6 separate regions of the Homo sapiens genome follow, and regions 1, 2, 4, 5 and 6 are each linked to region 3. Evidence: promoter capture Hi-C in 16 types of primary human blood cells and fetal thymus (Javierre and others, 2016). All regions are on one chromosome and are shown on one strand. The core of a region is centred on a gene start or on the middle of the fragment in contact, and the rest is flanking DNA. Distances in the headings are between cores, read along the strand shown. Region 1 holds the start of SLC25A32 (solute carrier family 25 member 32). Region 2 overlaps KLF10 (KLF transcription factor 10). Region 3 holds the start of MTDH (metadherin). Region 4 overlaps ATP6V1C1 (ATPase H+ transporting V1 subunit C1). Region 5 has its middle 7.2 kb from the start of GASAL1. Region 6 holds the start of AZIN1 (antizyme inhibitor 1).

Evidence for each region. Contacts are between HindIII fragments. The CHiCAGO score rates a contact against its expected background, and 5 or more counts as called.
Region 1: the fragment with the promoter of SLC25A32 here is called in contact with the fragment with the promoter of MTDH in region 3 in 5 of 17 cell types (total B cells, total CD4 T cells, non-activated CD4 T cells and 2 more); the score reaches 8.7 in total B cells.
Region 2: a contact is called between a fragment that was not itself captured here and the fragment with the promoter of MTDH in region 3, in 4 of 17 cell types (fetal thymus, naive CD8 T cells, activated CD4 T cells and 1 more). The highest score is 7.6, in fetal thymus.
Region 4: a fragment that was not itself captured here is called in contact with the fragment with the promoter of MTDH in region 3 in 3 of 17 cell types (naive CD8 T cells, non-activated CD4 T cells and activated CD4 T cells); the score reaches 5.4 in naive CD8 T cells.
Region 5: a contact is called between a fragment that was not itself captured here and the fragment with the promoter of MTDH in region 3, in 1 of 17 cell types (fetal thymus). The highest score is 6.2, in fetal thymus.
Region 6: a contact is called between the fragment with the promoter of AZIN1 here and the fragment with the promoter of MTDH in region 3, in 3 of 17 cell types (naive CD8 T cells, total CD4 T cells and non-activated CD4 T cells). The highest score is 9.5, in naive CD8 T cells.

Annotation. Positions count from the first base shown.
Region 1 is chr8:103,413,739-103,416,438 of GRCh38, forward strand. SLC25A32 (solute carrier family 25 member 32) reads right to left here and starts at 1,369. Exons shown (of 7, transcript NM_030780.5): 1 at 1,046-1,369. The coding sequence starts at 1,199. DCAF13 (DDB1 and CUL4 associated factor 13) reads left to right here and starts at 1,648. Exons shown (of 11, transcript NM_015420.7): 1 at 1,648-1,778. The coding sequence starts at 1,709. RefSeq lists enhancers at 1,035-1,656, 1,390-1,729. The HindIII fragment of the contact is 9,226 bases long and covers 1-2,700 here.
Region 2 is chr8:102,649,774-102,652,507 of GRCh38, forward strand. It overlaps KLF10 (KLF transcription factor 10), which reads right to left. Exons shown (of 4, transcript NM_005655.4): 2 at 2,391-2,624; 3 at 1,376-2,288; 4 at 1-618. The coding sequence ends at 359. Among named protein-coding and RNA genes, the nearest start is that of KLF10, 4.6 kb to the right of the region's middle. The HindIII fragment of the contact is 2,517 bases long and covers 128-2,644 here.
Region 3 is chr8:97,642,729-97,645,481 of GRCh38, forward strand. It overlaps MTDH (metadherin), which reads left to right and starts at 1,456. Exons shown (of 12, transcript NM_178812.4): 1 at 1,456-2,159. The coding sequence starts at 1,779. RefSeq lists silencers at 1,044-1,153, 1,334-1,793, 2,064-2,133, 2,417-2,585 and enhancers at 1,306-2,286, 2,287-2,753. The HindIII fragment of the contact is 3,502 bases long and covers 671-2,753 here.
Region 4 is chr8:103,023,104-103,025,803 of GRCh38, forward strand. All of the region lies in intron 1 of ATP6V1C1 (ATPase H+ transporting V1 subunit C1), which reads left to right. Among named protein-coding and RNA genes, the nearest start is that of ATP6V1C1, 3.4 kb to the left of the region's middle. The HindIII fragment of the contact is 2,711 bases long and covers 24-2,700 here.
Region 5 is chr8:102,812,879-102,815,578 of GRCh38, forward strand. No RefSeq gene overlaps it. Among named protein-coding and RNA genes, the nearest start is that of GASAL1, 7.2 kb to the left of the region's middle. RefSeq lists enhancers at 991-1,090, 1,101-1,150. The HindIII fragment of the contact is 925 bases long and covers 894-1,818 here.
Region 6 is chr8:102,862,794-102,865,493 of GRCh38, forward strand. AZIN1 (antizyme inhibitor 1) reads right to left here and starts at 1,370. Exons shown (of 12, transcript NM_148174.4): 1 at 1,014-1,370. MAILR (macrophage interferon regulatory lncRNA) reads left to right here and starts at 1,478. Exons shown (of 3, transcript NR_126339.1): 1 at 1,478-1,830. RefSeq lists enhancers at 1-247, 1,716-2,448 and silencers at 597-826, 1,487-1,836. The HindIII fragment of the contact is 10,250 bases long and covers 1-2,700 here.

The sequences.
Region 1 (2,700 bases), core at 119-2,618, 5.8 Mb after region 3:
ACGGGTTCTTGCTTCCTCTCCAGCTGTCAAAATATTAGCCCTTCTATGGGAAACCCCAAGCCCCAATCTTCCACTGAACCTTAAAGATACACATGGCCATCAGTAATGTAGAATTTTCTTAACGGTTTACCTGTATTTATATTTTGTTTTTGTATTTCTTGATTTTATGTTGTCTAGAATTACCTTTTATATGACTAAGTCTAACGCCTACAATTAAATTCTAAGTTCCCTGAAGGCAAGAACTTTATTAGATACTTCTGTAGCCCATACAGCAGTCTACAAATATTAAGAGAATATAAATCAAGTGAACTGAATTGCCTAATGCTAAAATAAACAACTTCTGTAGATTTAATTCTCAAGGCTGAACTTAACTTGTAATAACTTTATTTGGAAACTATTTTCTGCAATTTCAGTTATCAAAGATCATCTTTGAAACTCTTTCCAGACTTTAGTGTTGAGTTTAACTTCTAAAATGCTTTGTTAATTTCAACATACTCAATTCATCTAATACACTTAAAATAGTATTTCGATTCTAGCTATTTTTTCACAGAAACTTGTACCATTCTACAAATGCCAAAAAACAAACATTCAAGAGAATTCTATTCTAAATCTACTCCCAACCATTCGCTGAAGATTACGCCCTATCCCAATACTAGTCGAGCTGCCAAACCACGTGGGTATGCTAAGATTTCAAAGTTCCTCCAAGAGTGAATGATTTGCACGTGTGAGGACTAAACCTTAAAATGTGACAATCCCTTCTTTATTTTACAAATCAGGCTTTGAATCCCATCTTCTCTGCCAATGAGGATGTTTTTTCTCAGACTTCTCTACATACATGCCCCCTCTCTTAGTCTTGAGGAGCGGGGAAGATCGCAGGCCGACCCCTCCACCAAGCACCATTTCCTCAAATCTAGTTCAGGTTAGCCAACGCGGACAGCAACGCTCCCTTCAACGCTCCTCCTCCCCCTAGAACGGAAAAGACGGAGGAGATCCAGTTCGGGCTGACAGTGAGAGGATGCAGCCCGGTGTCTGGGCGGGCTCTTACCGGCGAAGCGGATCTTCACGAGGTCGAGCGGATGCAGCGCAAGGTTGGATAAGACGCCGCCGCTCACGCCCGCTATCAGGTTCTCATACCGGACGTGGCGGAATACCGTGCTCCACGCCGACGACCCGGACGCCGACTGGCCCTGGCCCGTCATAGGCTCGGGGCCCGTCGACACCACGGCGCCCAGGGCCGCGGAGGTGGGACGCGATGCAGTGGCCGCCACCGTGGCGACGGTCGCCCCTTGTGAGCGCAACCCCACCTCCGGGACCAACGAGAGGACTCTTATGCCCAAGGCGCGTGAGCGAAGCCGGAGACTCTAGTACTGAGGGGGCAAGAACGGGGCACAGACACTACGTCACGCCGGCGGAAAGCGCGATGGAGGGGAGGTCCCAGCCTCTCCCGAGTCTCCGCCCTGCCTCGCCCACAAATGCTCCAGCCCACGGACGCGGAAGCGACTGCACAGCTAAAGAACCGCCCCTTGCTAACGTTTGCCGGCAAAACTACGGAGCGGCGCAGGATCCAGTTGAGCCAGCAGGCCGCCGCTCCGCGAGTCACGTGACTGGAAGTAGTCTGGGAAAAGCGGAAGTCGCCTGTGGGAGGAGGTGGCGGTGGGCGGAACTCCTAGCGGACACCTCGTGGAGTCCGGCCGGAAGAGCAACCGAGATGAAGGTGAAGATGCTGAGCCGGAATCCGGACAATTATGTCCGCGAAACCAAGTTGGACTTACAGAGAGGTAAGATAAGTTGGTAGGGAGAAAGGGACGGTTTCCGCAAGTCGTTGGGTCTAGCCTCGGCTTTCGCGGAGTAAAGCCGGGGGAGGCTGGCACTCTGGTCTGGTTCTTTCTCAGTTACCTTTCGCTAAGGCAAACTTTGTGCTTACGGAGTCGCTGCGGAACTGGATGGATAGCAAGTAAAGTCTGTTCAAGTCCTTTTTCTAAGAATTTCCTCTAGTGGTGAGTGGGAAACAGTTGTCTATAGTGGAGAAAAATTCCAGCTGCTGCTCTGGGATTGTCTTCAGGTTCCTATTACTGAAAAGTGGACTTGAATGAGCCAAACTCGTGGGTTGAAGGGCTGAGAGTTAAACAGGCTTTTAAAACCTTCCTACTGCTCTTCTTGCCGCTTTACTACTTCACATTAGTTGTGGATGTTGGAAGAGACAAAGATGAATTTAAAAGCATCAGTTTTCTCTTACCATCCCTTAAGAAGTTTGATGAAAGAATGGTTAAATGAAATTAATTTATCCTTCCTGGTCTGTTCCCCCGTTAACATGCTAACCACTTATAAATTGTACTTTGTGATACCTAAATGACAAGGGACCAACCATGCGTAAGCAGATTGTTCTAAATAAAGAGAATAACAGGAGCAAAGGTCTTCAGGCAGGAATGAACCTAAGGCATAGAAAGAAGGGCTGTGTCATTAGTTTGAATGAGGAGTAAGCGAGATGAGATGAGGCGAAAACAGTATTTCACTATTTTGGTTGAGTAGGAGATATTATCAACATGTGTGTGAGCATTGCTAATAAGTCTCTGCTCAAAAGATGTTTACAGTTTGTCACAAGGCAGTAATGTTTCTAAAATATAAATTAGATTTGTCACTTGGATTTGGCATCGTTCCCAGTCCTTGAATCTCTGGTCCCACCTTCCTTGCCACTTTAGT
Region 2 (2,734 bases), core at 136-2,635, 5.0 Mb after region 3:
CACATTGAAAAGTTGGTCTCAAGTATAAACAGCAAAAGTAAAGTAACAAATATGCACACAGATTCAAAATCTGTGCTACCTGTGTTGACCTCATCTGAAACCTTCAAAAAATATTCAAAGGAATAAAAGCTTTCTCATCTCTCTTATGTGATAAGAAATGAAACCTGCCTTTCTGTGACCTGCCTGTGGCCGAAGCCCTTTTAGTCACCTAACCCAGGCGGGGCCTTCGTGCCAGGCTGTGGGGCTTCTGCTTTAAGCCCACGTTGTGGGGCCACAGACTTGCAGTGGAAGCATTTTTACATCACCACTGGCTCCCGCTGAGACCAAAGTTAGTTCTGACTCTTCACTTTCCGGTCTGTCACTGTGTGGGAGCAGGGGTTGGAGGTAGAGCAATGTCATTTAGCTTGCTCACTTCCATCTGCCAGTTTGGTAGCTTCTTGGCTGATAGATGGCGCCGGGCATGCTTGGTCAAATGGTCACTCCTCATGAACCGCCGGTCACACATGGGGCACGCAAATTTCTTCTCACCCGTGTGGGTTCGCCTGTGTCTGGACAGTTCATCAGAACGGGCAAACCTCCTTTCACAACCTTTCCAGCTACAGCTGAAAGGCTTTTCTCCTAAAACAAAGACATACAAATCATTATTATGCATAAGATTGCCGTAAATTATATGTTCAATTCTGTCTAAAAGTATATGAGAAGATACATTTTAAATAATAAAAGCTAATAAATCAAACTGTCAAATGAATATGAGATATGTATTGCTCCAATTTCAACTTGTCACTTGATCACATTTACAAAACTCTTCCCCACATGAAATAAGGCAGCCGGGTGGAGTAGTAGGCACCTGTAGTCCCAACTACTCAGAAGGCTGGGGCAGGAGGATAGCTTGAGCCCAGAAGTTTGAGACCAGTTTGGGCAACAGAGCAGTTTTTTTTCATCCCTTAAAAAAAGCCAAAAATGAAAAGACTTCCTGACTTTAACTATGATTCAAAGGCTTTAAAGATACCTTATTAAAGTAACTACTCAGACATCTACAGAATCATCATTTGAGAGACTGAAACAAAAGCACATCAATAAAGTATTTACATACTTATTTTTAAATTATTTGTAGAGATGAGGTCTCAGTATGTTGCACAGGCTGGTTTTGAACTCCTATGCTCAAACAATCCTCCCACCTTGGTCTCCTAAAGTGCAAGGATTATGGCACTCGTGAGCGGCCTCCAATACAGCCTTTTGGAGGACCTTGCACTGGTAAATACCATCCTCTAAACTAGCTAAAGGCAAGTTATTCCTTATCATCCTGGGTTTAAATGTGTGATCACAGCCAAAATCTCTTCATTTAAACACTAAAGATATAAGAAGTGGCTGGTACCTGTGTGCGTCCTCGTGTGGGCCTTCAGATGGGAACTTTTAAAGTATGTCTTGCCACATCCTGGGTGGCTACAGATGTGACTCCTTATCCTTGATGAATCAATCTGAGGAGTGACTTTTGCTGCTGAAGGGGAAAACCCAGGAGCAGGGGCAATGGGAGAGAGTCTGGTGCCATTCGGGCTCACCACCGGAGGCTTTGAACTCTGCACAACGGGCTGGGGTACCACAAACATGACAGCGCCTTTGGGGACTTGTGTGCCCATGAACACAACAGGGGGGCAAACGGCTGGTGGCTGGCTGGGAGGAGTGCTGGGAACGACTGTTGTCACAACAGGGTTGTTGGCAGGAAGGGGAACCATCTGGCAGATGACCGGCATAGGTGGCACTCCCCCTGCAGATACTGCAGGTGGAGAGACCAACACTGACTTCTGTTGTGGGGACACAGGGGCTGGCTGAGACCTGCAGATGACCGTCTCTGAGGAAGGCACAGAAAAGTCATAAAGTGCAGCACTTGCTTTCTCATCAACATCTGCCACTGTGTTTCTCTCACATTTGGATCTGTTTGGTGACACAGCGGCACATGGTATGTTCTTTCTTGCAGCCTCAACATTTAGGTGGGTTCTTCTTCTAAAAGAATTGTTCTGATAGTTGAGGATGCTGGCTGCTTTCATTGGGCAGGTCTGGTGGTTACATAGCTGGGCATCAGCTGTATGACGAATCACACTTGTTGCCTGAGCTTTGGGGAGTTTGGGGGCAGATACTGGGCTCTTTTCTTCCTCTTTGAAAGGTGCGGCAATGTGAGGTTTGGCAGTATCTGAGAGTGACTTGAAGTGTACAGTAGATGGCGCTGGTGCCATCAGATTTGACACTTGAGAGGGTTCAAAGTCAGAAGGACTGTAAGGTGGAGTCAAACACTAAAGAAAAGGGAAATACATAGCATGAGAAATCTACAGTTTATTATATAAATTTTAAGAAATTATATAATTTACGTCTATCTTAAAAACAATAATACTTACAAATGCTGGGATTGTATGAAAATCAGGTGTTCCCGGAAGCAGATTCTCTTCCTCTGACAAATCAGATACTGGTGTAACAGGTCTGTTTTCAACGTATTTCTTAAAATCAGACTTCCAACTGCAGCTCATTGACATAAGTGCTTCTACAGCTTCAAAATCACTTTTCTCTGCAGTTTTGTTCCAGGAATACATACTCTCTTTTGGCCTTTCAGAAATCATTTCCATTCTTTCCTCCTATAAAAACAAAAGAGGAAAGCTTATAAGCATATTTTTTGTCATCCAAATGACACACAGAAAAATGAGCAAATTTTTTTTTTTTTTTTTTTTACAACTCACACAACTTT
Region 3 (2,753 bases), core at 206-2,705:
TTTATTATTTACAAAACTCCCTTCCACACATGAATCACAATATGCATTACGACACTGTTGCAAAATAGGTCAAAATACATTTTTGGTATTTGGTGGTTATTAATATTACCCCTGCTGTATTCCTTGAGAAAGCCTGTATTTAGTTCACTTAAGACAGTTGCTTACACGCTAATGATCATTTACCGATAAAATACAGAGTTTCCTTATAGCAAAATATAATCTTAAAACCCTAAGGCAGCCTTCAAGCATTTCCCTTATAATTAAAACCTGAAGGCCTGGCGTGGTGGCTCACGCCTGTAATCCCAGCACTTTGGGAGGCTGAGGTGGGCGGATCACGAGGTCAGGAGATCAAGACCATCCTGGCTAACACGGTGAAACCCCGTCTCTACTAAAAATACAAAAAATTAGCCGGGCGTGGTGGTGGGTGCCTATAGTCCCAGCTGCTCGGGAGGCTGAGGCAGGAGAATGGCTTGAACCCAGGAGGCGGACCTTGCAGTGAGCGGAGATAGTGCCACTGCACTCCAGCCCGGGCGACAGAGCGAGACTCTTGTCTCAAAAAAAAAAAATTTGAAAAGGCAGTTCGTTTCCTTCTATAGCTGCATCCCAGAGATGGTCAACATAGCATATAAAAATGGAATTTTTGCAAACCCCTTTTGCAGTGTTGTAGAAAAGCTTAAAATAAAACGTAACGAGAAAGCTCCCTCCATAAGTAAATACAATCTAATGTGCTTCCCCTTATGTGTTATTAAAGCTACAAATTAGTAGGAAAAGAATAGTGCCGCCCACGGGCTTTCCAACTTTTGAATTCTGGGGACTAACAACAGAGAGCAAGAGTGAATGAGCCAAACGACGCAAACGTGCCCTCGCCAGGCTGGCAACTGGTAGGCACGCAGTGTATTAGTTGCCCTGGAGAGAAACACCCTGGAGAGAAATACCCAATTTGTGAACTAAACCTAGGTCCCGGAAGAACAGTGTTCGGCGTCAGACTCCGTTGAGCTCATTCTGGAAGGATCCAACTGGCGCCACCAGGGAGAAAAAGCGATTCCACCTCAATAACACTCCAGAAAAAGGCATGAAGAGCCCTATACCTGCCAGGGCGACTTTGACCTAGACCCGGTGACCCGGTTCCTAGCGCTGCAGCCCTACCCGCCCCCCGCCCGCCCCCGCCTTGCACGGAGCCCCTCCTCTGTACTCATTCGTTGCGCCACGTCTCCTAACTCTGCGCCACCAGCCACCCCGCGAAGGCGTCCACCAATTAACCCCTCCCAGCTTCTGGTCTACAGTAACGGGTCCCCAACGCCGCGTCTTAACCAGGCCCGAACCGACCACCGCCAACCTTCCCTGACACGCCTTTGCCCCACCCGACCCCGCCCGCCCCCACGTGACGCCCACGCCCCGCCCACTGGCGCCCACGTGACCCACGGTCGTCCCCGCGCGCGGCGTGGATCGCGGCCCAAGCCGCCATTGTTCCGCCGAGGGAGGACAGCGGGGCCTGGCGCTGGCGCCGAGACGCCGCTTAGCGGCCGCCACTGGAGACACTCCCTCCCGCCTCCCGGGTCTCCTGGCGGCGGCGGAGTGAGGCTGACAGCGGGGAACCTGGGAGACCCCTCCGCCCTCCCCGCGGTGGCAGCGGCCGATCCCCGGCTCCGGCGCGAGGGACGGCCGCGATGCGCTCGGCCTGAGGTTACCCGGCCCGGCCCTTCCTCGCTTCCCTCGACTATTCCACTGCGTCTCCGCGCCCCGGCGTCATCCTGCGAGTCCCTCTGACGGGAGGGAAGATGGCTGCACGGAGCTGGCAGGACGAGCTGGCCCAGCAGGCCGAGGAGGGCTCGGCCCGGCTGCGGGAAATGCTCTCGGTCGGCCTAGGCTTTCTGCGCACCGAGCTGGGCCTCGACCTGGGGCTGGAGCCGAAACGGTACCCCGGCTGGGTGATCCTGGTGGGCACTGGCGCGCTCGGGCTGCTGCTGCTGTTTCTGCTGGGCTACGGCTGGGCCGCGGCTTGCGCCGGCGCCCGCAAAAAGCGGAGGAGCCCGCCCCGCAAGCGGGAGGAGGCGGCGGCCGTGCCGGCCGCGGCCCCCGACGACCTGGCCTTGCTGAAGAATCTCCGGAGCGAGGAACAGAAGAAGAAGAACCGGAAGAAACTGTCCGAGAAGCCCAAAGTGAGTATGGGATGAGCGGCAGTAGAGAACGGGCGAAGGGCGGGCGTGGAGACCCTCGAGCTTGGGGGAGGCCGCGCCCCAGCCGGGAAGGAAAAGAGTGCTTAGTCGAAAGCCGAGAGGCAGCACTCCCAAGTGGAGGAGGAGGTGATAGGTGGTCATGTTATTTGGGGAATGGGGGGAACTCAGGAAGTATAGGACGAGTGGGGAAGCCCAGTTTCGAGGAAGGAAGTTAGGAGGTCTGGGGGTCCGTTCAGATAGGCGCCCAGAGGTCAAGCCATCTTTGGGAACCGTCACCGCTAGAATAAGCACAGCATCCTTCCTTGAGGCCTGCAGAGTAGGCTGCATGTGGAGCGTAATGGGACCTTAAGGTGGTGTTAGGAAGTTGTATAAAGACTGCGCTCGGAAGACAGATGTCTATCTCAAGTCACATTGAGACAGTAGGCAGTGGAAGAAGTGCGGTGACCTAGAAATTCTGGGGCTTACACAGGATTAAAGGTGTCCAGGTCTAGACGCGCTTCCATTTTAGTTGGGACTGTTAAAGGGAAATGGTTGCCCATTCTTGTTCTGGCAAATGTGGCCAACAGAGGCCGGAAC
Region 4 (2,700 bases), core at 129-2,628, 5.4 Mb after region 3:
CCCTGAAATGTGAAGAGGAAGAAAGCTTTTCAGCCTTTTTGAAAGGCTAGCATGGCTGAAACGGGGAGGGAGAGAGGCAGGTGGAGAAAGCTGGGGTCACGCCAAGCAGAGCTTTTATTCTAAAAACAGAGGGAAGCCAGTGAAGATTACAGGCAGTGGATTGAGACAGGTTGTGGCTTTTTTTTTTTTTTTTTGGTGGGGGGGAGATAATGTGGAGGGTGGCAAAAGTGAATGAGGGGAGACCCGCTCAGGGGAACATTGTTGTAATCCACTGAAGGATTTGAAGACAAGATACCTTCTCTCTCCACTGAGGACTTCAGAATGTTTAACTGTATTCACTTTTAGAGGGTTCAGGACTTGGGGAAGGGAAAGAATGATTCGATTCTATTTGTACCCTTCACAGGGTAGTCGTAACTACCCTCGAGGCAGTCCTGAAGTACATAGCAGAGGCTCTTTTGCAAAAATTTGTTTTGGCTTTTCAAATTTATCCTTTTGTAAGGTCATCTATTTCAGAATATCTTTTATTGAAATATAGTTACAGGGAGGGATCACTTTCATATTTATTTTGTTCTCACAGTTCTTTGAAAGACAGTGGATGAAAATGCTATTCATTGTATAGATGGGAACCTGGAGCTAGAGAAACACGTAAAGTGATTTGGCTGAGTCCGGAGTAACTGCCACAGTTTTCTGACTGCTGATGTATTCCTGCTGATTACCTACACAGTACTAACCACAGTCACATCTAGAGAAAAGGGCGAGTTTTTTGAAGTGCACAGTAGTCTTTGATTCAGCATTTTTTTTTGGGGGGGGGGAACTTCTCCCTGAAGAGTCAGCACTTTTGATGAACTTTTTCTAGTAGAACAGCTTCAAAGGAATTGGCAGTGGTGGGCTATGTCTTATCTATAATCTTGGATAGAGCTGTTCAATTTACAGTTCATCTGGAGGAAATAATGAACAATAAGGTGAACTGAAAGTGCTCAGGTTGTCAATCACAGTTCTTTGGCAAAAAGTGAGTCTCAAATTATGCTGAAGACTGAGCCTCAGGGTTCTGTCTCAGAAGTCCTGGATCTTTTTCTCTTTTGGTATACCTTGTAGGGACTAGATAAAATCTAAAGAAACAGTACTCAGGATCTAACTAAATGCTGAGAGCTAGATAGTGTAATTCAGCTTTTAAAACTTGGCACAAAATACTCATTTTTATTTTTTTGGTATATTAGTCTTAGGAGCCTCATGTACATTAGTTTTTTCAACCTAAAAAGAAACTTCAGGGCTTCAAAAATCTGATTTTGTGATTATTTCCACAACTCACGAGATAATACCATTGGCCAACTGGAATGCCAAAGTAAACCTTTGCCAAAGGTCTCCATGTAGTTTACCCGTCCCTAAGCAGCAAGTCTTCTTTTGAACTTGGTTCTGCTTAGGAGTACTACAGTTTTGACTGAGTACCTCCTACTTAAAATTTTGCTCTTGTACATATTTAAATCTGTCTACAGGTTACATCTTTTTCACTCTTTGGGTGTGGAATTATATATCATTTATAAATTAATTCATGTTAGATTTCCATTTTTCATCAATTTTTAAAGACAGACATAGTATAAACATTAGCATAGTGCCCTTGGGACGCTTAGGCAGTGAACCAAGGCAGTCTAAAATTTCCTATTGACATGAGTGATTCTTGGAACTAGAAATTTCAAACTATATTCTTGATGCTGAAACAAAATTTTTTATCCAGCAGGACATCTACTTCTAAGATTATACCATGTGCAAATGTACTATGCGTTTATTGAGTTAAAAAAATGAGCCAGGTAGGCAGTGGAGGAGAGGTGCTTTGGTTACTATGCATTTATTGAGTTAAAAAATGAGCCAGGTAGGCAGTGGAGGAGAAGTGCTTTGGTTACATCGGGGATAAAAGAGTATTAACTGTATATCTAAAATGTGGGGTGTGTGTGTGTGTGTCTGTGTGAGTATGTGTGTGTATTTGAAAATAAAATGCTAGGTAAGTGATGTTTTATAGAAAGGGATCGATGGATCTTCTAAGATATTTTAAACAGACTATCAATGAATAGGAAGTTGTAAATTAAGGCGTGTTAACAGGTGGTTTAACTTTACCATGAAAGGTTTTCCTTTTGAATCAGCCCATAGTTTAGTGTTTCTATGTGGGTGCTATTGGCAGTTTGGAGGTCTGTTTCGCCCCTACCCACTAAATGCTGATTAGCGATCTCCACATTGGGACAACCCAAAATGCTCCCATACATTTCCAGACTCCTCCTGGAGGAGAGAGGCACCATTTGGTGCAAAACATGCATGTGGTGTCAGTTTATTTGTTGGACAAATATTAAGATGTTGAGGTTACAGAGGTTAAAAGTAATATTTTAATAAACTGCATATAATGGAATTCAAGTAATTTAAAATCTAGTGTTTGATGTTTTAATGTAACTCCTTTAGTGTAAAATTACTGAAACTATATCCTAATATTTCTTTGAGGCACTTGTCTTTTGTAAAACTGCATGAATAACTCAAATAGAGTCCCCTTAATCCCAATAAAATGTAGTCACTAAATGTCTTTGGGCAACTAATTTCACCAGCTGTTCCCTCATTTGCAAGTGGGGGTGGTGATAACACATCTTGTGAGGGAATTAAATACAAAATTGCTTTAGTAGATGCAAGTGCTTATCACTGGGCACAACATGTGGTACATAT
Region 5 (2,700 bases), core at 106-2,605, 5.2 Mb after region 3:
CCTGGGAGAAGAGCGAGACTGAAAAGACCTGTCAGCAGGGTCAAAACAGGGAGCAGGTGGCATGCTCAAGGGTGTGGACAAGGTGTAGGATAGCCAGGGGATGGTCCAGTTCCCGGGAGCCAAAGGGGAAAGGCAAGAGGAGGGAGCGGTTAACCAGACCTAGAGAGAGAGGGCAAGCTAGGTGCAGGGCCCCTTCAAGGGCTCCAGCCTCTGCTGGGAGATTCAGCCCGCCAGAGGCAACTGGACAGGAAATGAGCCCAGGAAGGACTACCCTGACCCCACTATCCTCCCCCAGGCTTCTCCGCTCCACTTTGCTTGACCACAAAGCAAAGAGGCAGGGGAAGCATTGAGGCAGTCTGTGAACATCAGCCTCCAGGTGCAGAGCAGGGTGGATGGTGGGTGGCAGGACAGCTGGAAGCTATCCAGTACCAAGAATGAGGCTGTGATAGCCAACAGGAACAGGAAGGGATGTGATCATAGTCACAGATACCATGACCACAGGCTTGGCCTGGACTGGGTTTGGGCTGGCAGAGAGAGGTCAGAAGCATAATGACCCTTGCAGAGGGAGTGTCATCAAATTAAGTAAAGTTGGGGCCAAAGGACAAAATATTCTAATGTCAAAGCTCAGTGTAAGACAAAGAAAAGGAAGCGCCACCTCACCCAGTCCAAATGGAGGACTATGCCAAAGGGTGATACCTCATGGGAAAATTCACTTGCAAACGGGGAGGATAAATGCATCTCTCTCTCTCTCTCTCTCTCTCTCTCTCACACACACACACACACACACACACACACACACGCACAAAGCTAGGTATCTTAGGAAGGTGGAGGACAGAGACGCAATGTCTCACGTTGGTGAATTGGTGAATCCCTATCTTAGGTGTAAATCAGAAAGCTTCTTGGAGAAAAAAACACATTCAAAACCTGCTTGTAGCTGGTATGTGCCTGTAGTCTCAGCTACTCAGAAGGCTGAGGTGGGAAGATGGCTTGAGCCCAGGTGTTTCAGACCAGCCTTGGAAACATAGTGAAACCCCATTGCTAAAAAAAACTATACAAACAAAAAAATTTGCTTGCAAAACACCCAGCTGGACTCACTGTGGGTTACAAGCACGTTTAAGACTTGGTCTCTGAGAAACCAGTTGACTGCCACCTCAAGATCTTAACTTCTAAAACACAAAAATAGACCCACAAAGTCACAAAGCAATGTTTCTCAAAGCCACAGGGGAACTGCCTCCTACAGATAAAAAGATCCCTGCTTTGAGCCTGAATGAATCAGCCAAGGCCCCCTTTCTTCCAACCAACCAACCCTAACCAGGTAAGCCCACCTCAACAACCTGACCCTACAAAAAACCCTTCCTAACCCTTTTATTGAGTGGCTCCGAAGGCTCACCCAACATGTGGGTTCCTTTGATGCATCAAAGTAAGCAAACTTGGCATTTTGTGGCCATAGGCACATCCTTAGTGGGCCTGACGTCTCCGACTTGAAGGAGTTGGTGGCCCACCTGGAACAGCCATGGCTTGAACTAAACATTTAACAATCCCTACACTTGAGCTGGGGTCTTCTGGAACATCCTCCCAAATCCCCACTGCCAGCCTGTACTGTACTTTGCTGGGGACTTGGAGAGTCAAAGGCTGTTGCTACTGAGGGAGGGGGAGGGCGGTTGGGGGAGGAGGGCTTTGGAAACGGGAGGGAAAGTGAGGCAGGAATCCCTTCTTCCTCCTGGCTCCTCCACAAAGGACTAGGGGCAGGGATGTAGAGATGCAAAGGTCAGGGAACCGGGGACACTTGTGACACTCAGAAGTGTGATAGAACATAAAAGCTTAATACTATGTGAAATCAACTCTGAACAGTGGGAAACTCAGCAATTGTTTGCTGCAACTTCCAAGGCACTATAGCAAATGTAATCCACAAGCGTCATCTAGTGGTACAATCTGTCAGTGTCGGCCAAGCCCTGAGCTCTGAGCGGCAGCTCTGCCGGGTGAGAAGTCTACACTCGGTGCCCAGAGGTCTAGGACCAAGATGGCCAGCCAGCCACATCTGCCAGGGACAGCATTCAGCCTAATTGCCTCGGGCATTCTGCTCTGCAGCGTAGAAAACAAGCCTCGAAGGGAACTCTGAGCTGGGACTATAGGCATGTCCCACCATGCCTGGCTAATTTTTTATTTTTGTATATATATATAAAATATGTAATATATATAAATAATATATATAAATAGATCCCTGCAGATAATATATATATAATCTAATATATATATATAATCATATATATAATCTAATATATAATCATATATATAATCTAATATATAATCTATATATATGTAAAATCATATATATATAATCTTATACATATATGTATAATCTTATATATATATATTAGAGATGGGGTCTTGCTGTGTTGCCCAGGCTGGTCTCAAACCCCTGGCCTCAAGCAATCACCCCTCCTCGCTCTCCCAAAGTGCTGGAATTACAGGCGTGAGCCACTGTGCCCGGCCAGAGCTGGGGATTTTTGGGGCACAGAACAAGCTGTGGTTGCTTGGTAAGTGACTGGGGTTGCGTGGGCATTACAGCTGTTGATGCCTGCCCAGCGTAGCATCCCAGATATGAGGGATATGAAGAGACAGTCTCACCTAATGTGTCGGATCGCCTGCGGTGCCAGCCGTTGTGATGGAGTGGGGCAGGCCTATCTCTCAGGTGGAACC
Region 6 (2,700 bases), core at 120-2,619, 5.2 Mb after region 3:
TAAATGTGCTGAAACATGAGGCGGTAAACTGTGTCCCCGACTGTTTCGGGTTTCTGAACCAGCAGCTTTGTCTACGAAACACACATTCAGGATACCGTGTAAGGGTTAGAACATGTTACCACCACCAACTGTTGGCAGTCAAGACAGTAGTTGATAAGCCACCCGTCTACCAATCTCCCTCTTTCTGCCTAGGAACCATGGCGCGGACGGAAAAACGAAGCCATGGTGACTAATCCTCAGGCTCCAGGAGGTGACTGGGGTGAGTGAAGGCGACTTGACCCAATCAGGAGCGCCGCAGGGGCGGAGCAGCAGCCTCGAGGCTTCCAGAAGGGGCCAAAAGCCTCTCGCTGGCTACCTGACACCGGGGCTTCCCCGCCGCCAGGCCCCAAGTGGCGTCAACTTTCCTCCACCAGAGGGGGACCGCGCTCCCCGCGCCCCCCAGGAATCCGACTTCCTCCGCAGCTGTCACCAGAGGCCGGCGCGGGGCCCGCCCCGCTCCATTCATAACCAGGACCCCAGCCGTTGCAGCCCACAGCGCCGCCCGCCCGCCGGGCTTCGGGAGGCAAAGGTGGCGGCGGCGCACCGCGGAGTAGGGGCTGCGGGACCCCGGCCCCTCAGGGCTGCGGCCGGGCCCCCTCCCCGGAAACAGCAATGCACCACGGGAGAGGGGTGGGGGCCGCACGCCGCCAGGAGGGGACGGCGACCCCCGGCGGCGAGACCCCCGCGCGCTCCCCCACTGGCACACGCCCCCTCGCCCCAACTGCTGCGGCTCCGGCTCCGCCAAGCGTCCAGCAGCCGCCCGAAGGTCCTGAGGCGCGGCCCGCCGCCCAGCCCCGCCGCCGCCGCCGCCGCCGGGGGCACAGACAGCCGCCGCCGCCATGTTCGAGGCGGCCGGCCGCGGGGCGCTGCGGGGACGTCTTAAGGGCGGCGGGGCCCAGCCGGAGCCCCCCAGCCGCCCCCCAAGGCCAGCCCCGCGTCCTGGCCCCTCCCGCGCTCCTCGGCTCGGTACTCACGTGAGATAACGGCCCAAAGAGTCGGGTAAAGCGTCTTCTCTTTTTCGGCGGAATTTTTAAAGAGGGATGTGGTTACCTTGAGCAGAAATACCCAAGGCGGCCTGGGCCATAGGCTGCGGGAACGACTTGGGGGTAAAAGCGCGGCACCGACACCAGCTGTGTGCAGCAGTGGCGGCGGCGGCCGAAGGAGAAATAGAACAGCGCAGGCAAAAGAAGAAAGGCGCGGGCTGGGTGGGAAGAGGATTCGGACTCGTCACACTGCAGAGCAGCAGAGCGAGAAAGGATGAGAAGAGGCAGAGAAGGCGACGGCAGAAGAAAAAAGGAAAAACTGCGGCCGCGATCAGAGCCTGAAAGTGTGAGAAGGCGGCGCCAGCGACGCCAGTATTTATATTAGGGGGCGTGGCCTGGTGACATCACAGCTGGCCGGGCAGCCGCGCGAGCGGGGCGGAACCCGGTTGCAGCCCGGAGAAAAGGGAGGGGGACGGAAGAGGAAGGAGGACTGAGCCCGGGAGAGAGAGGGGAGGGGTCGGCGCGCGACCGGGTCATGCAGGTGCAGACTGGCCGGTCGCTTCCCGCCCTCCAGCCACCCGCAGCTCCCCGGCAGGCGAAGGGCGGCCGCGCGGGTGTGGGCCGAGAGAGGGAGGCGGCTCGGCTGGAGCGCGCCGTCCGCCCGACCCCCGCCGCCTCTCGGGCGCCTGCGCTCACGCTGCGGGGCCCAGCGCATTGTGAGCCGGGTCGAGCTCCACGCTGGCAGCGTCTGAGAGCTGTCCTGGGCCGGAGGTGGCGCGAACCCTGTGCGGCCTAGAGTGGGCCTGGGGTAAGCCTGTCGGCGCCGCTGCCGAGCCTTCGCGTCCAGCTCCCTCCGCTTTGTGAGGCCTGTAGTTTACCCTGGGGAGTGTCCTCCCGGGCTGAGGCGCCCGCCCTCGGTGATGCGGTACTCCTTTAGGGAAGCGAGTTCCTCGTGGCCAGAAAGGACCGGCCCAGTGTCCGGGTGTTAAAAAGGGTTGTGACCACGTGAAAATGTCCTCAGTGCTCGAACGTTGCAATACGGTGCAGTGGAAATTTTTTAAAGGAATATGGCTTTTATGTCTTCATTTTTAAAAGGATTGGTGGAGTCAGTCCCAAGCAGGACCCGCGTTGGAGAGGGGATTACTGATGTTACAAGCGCACATTACTTCAATCCCCTAGGTCTCATTTTCGCGGTCGTTTTAATTTTTCTACTCCACAACAGACTTTTTTTTACTAGGGGTTCTAAGATTACCTACATAGCTTTTAATTTATTTTCATCTTTTTTAGATGCCTCAGCACTAATGATCATGATCAGAGACCCCGAGTTCTCTCGTGCTGCTACGCTTCGCAACACATAGCACAAATGGAATATGTGTTGACACACCCCTCTGAAGTTAAGATCTTTGATATTAAGACCCTGACTTTTTTCCCTTTCATTCTTCCGAACCCTCTGTGTACTTTGAGCAGCACTGTGGTTGATTAATAAATCATCAAATGTGAAAGGAAGAAAGCGACCTTCCTGTGTGGAAAAGCAGGGTATCTTGCGAGGCTGTATGAGAGAGTATTCGGTAGAATCAGGAGCTGTGGACGCATTCCTGATTTTGTTTTTCCTTATTTTGCTCGGCTATATCTTGGCTCTGTCTTTTATTTCTTCAAAGTTCTGTTCTATTCAGAACAT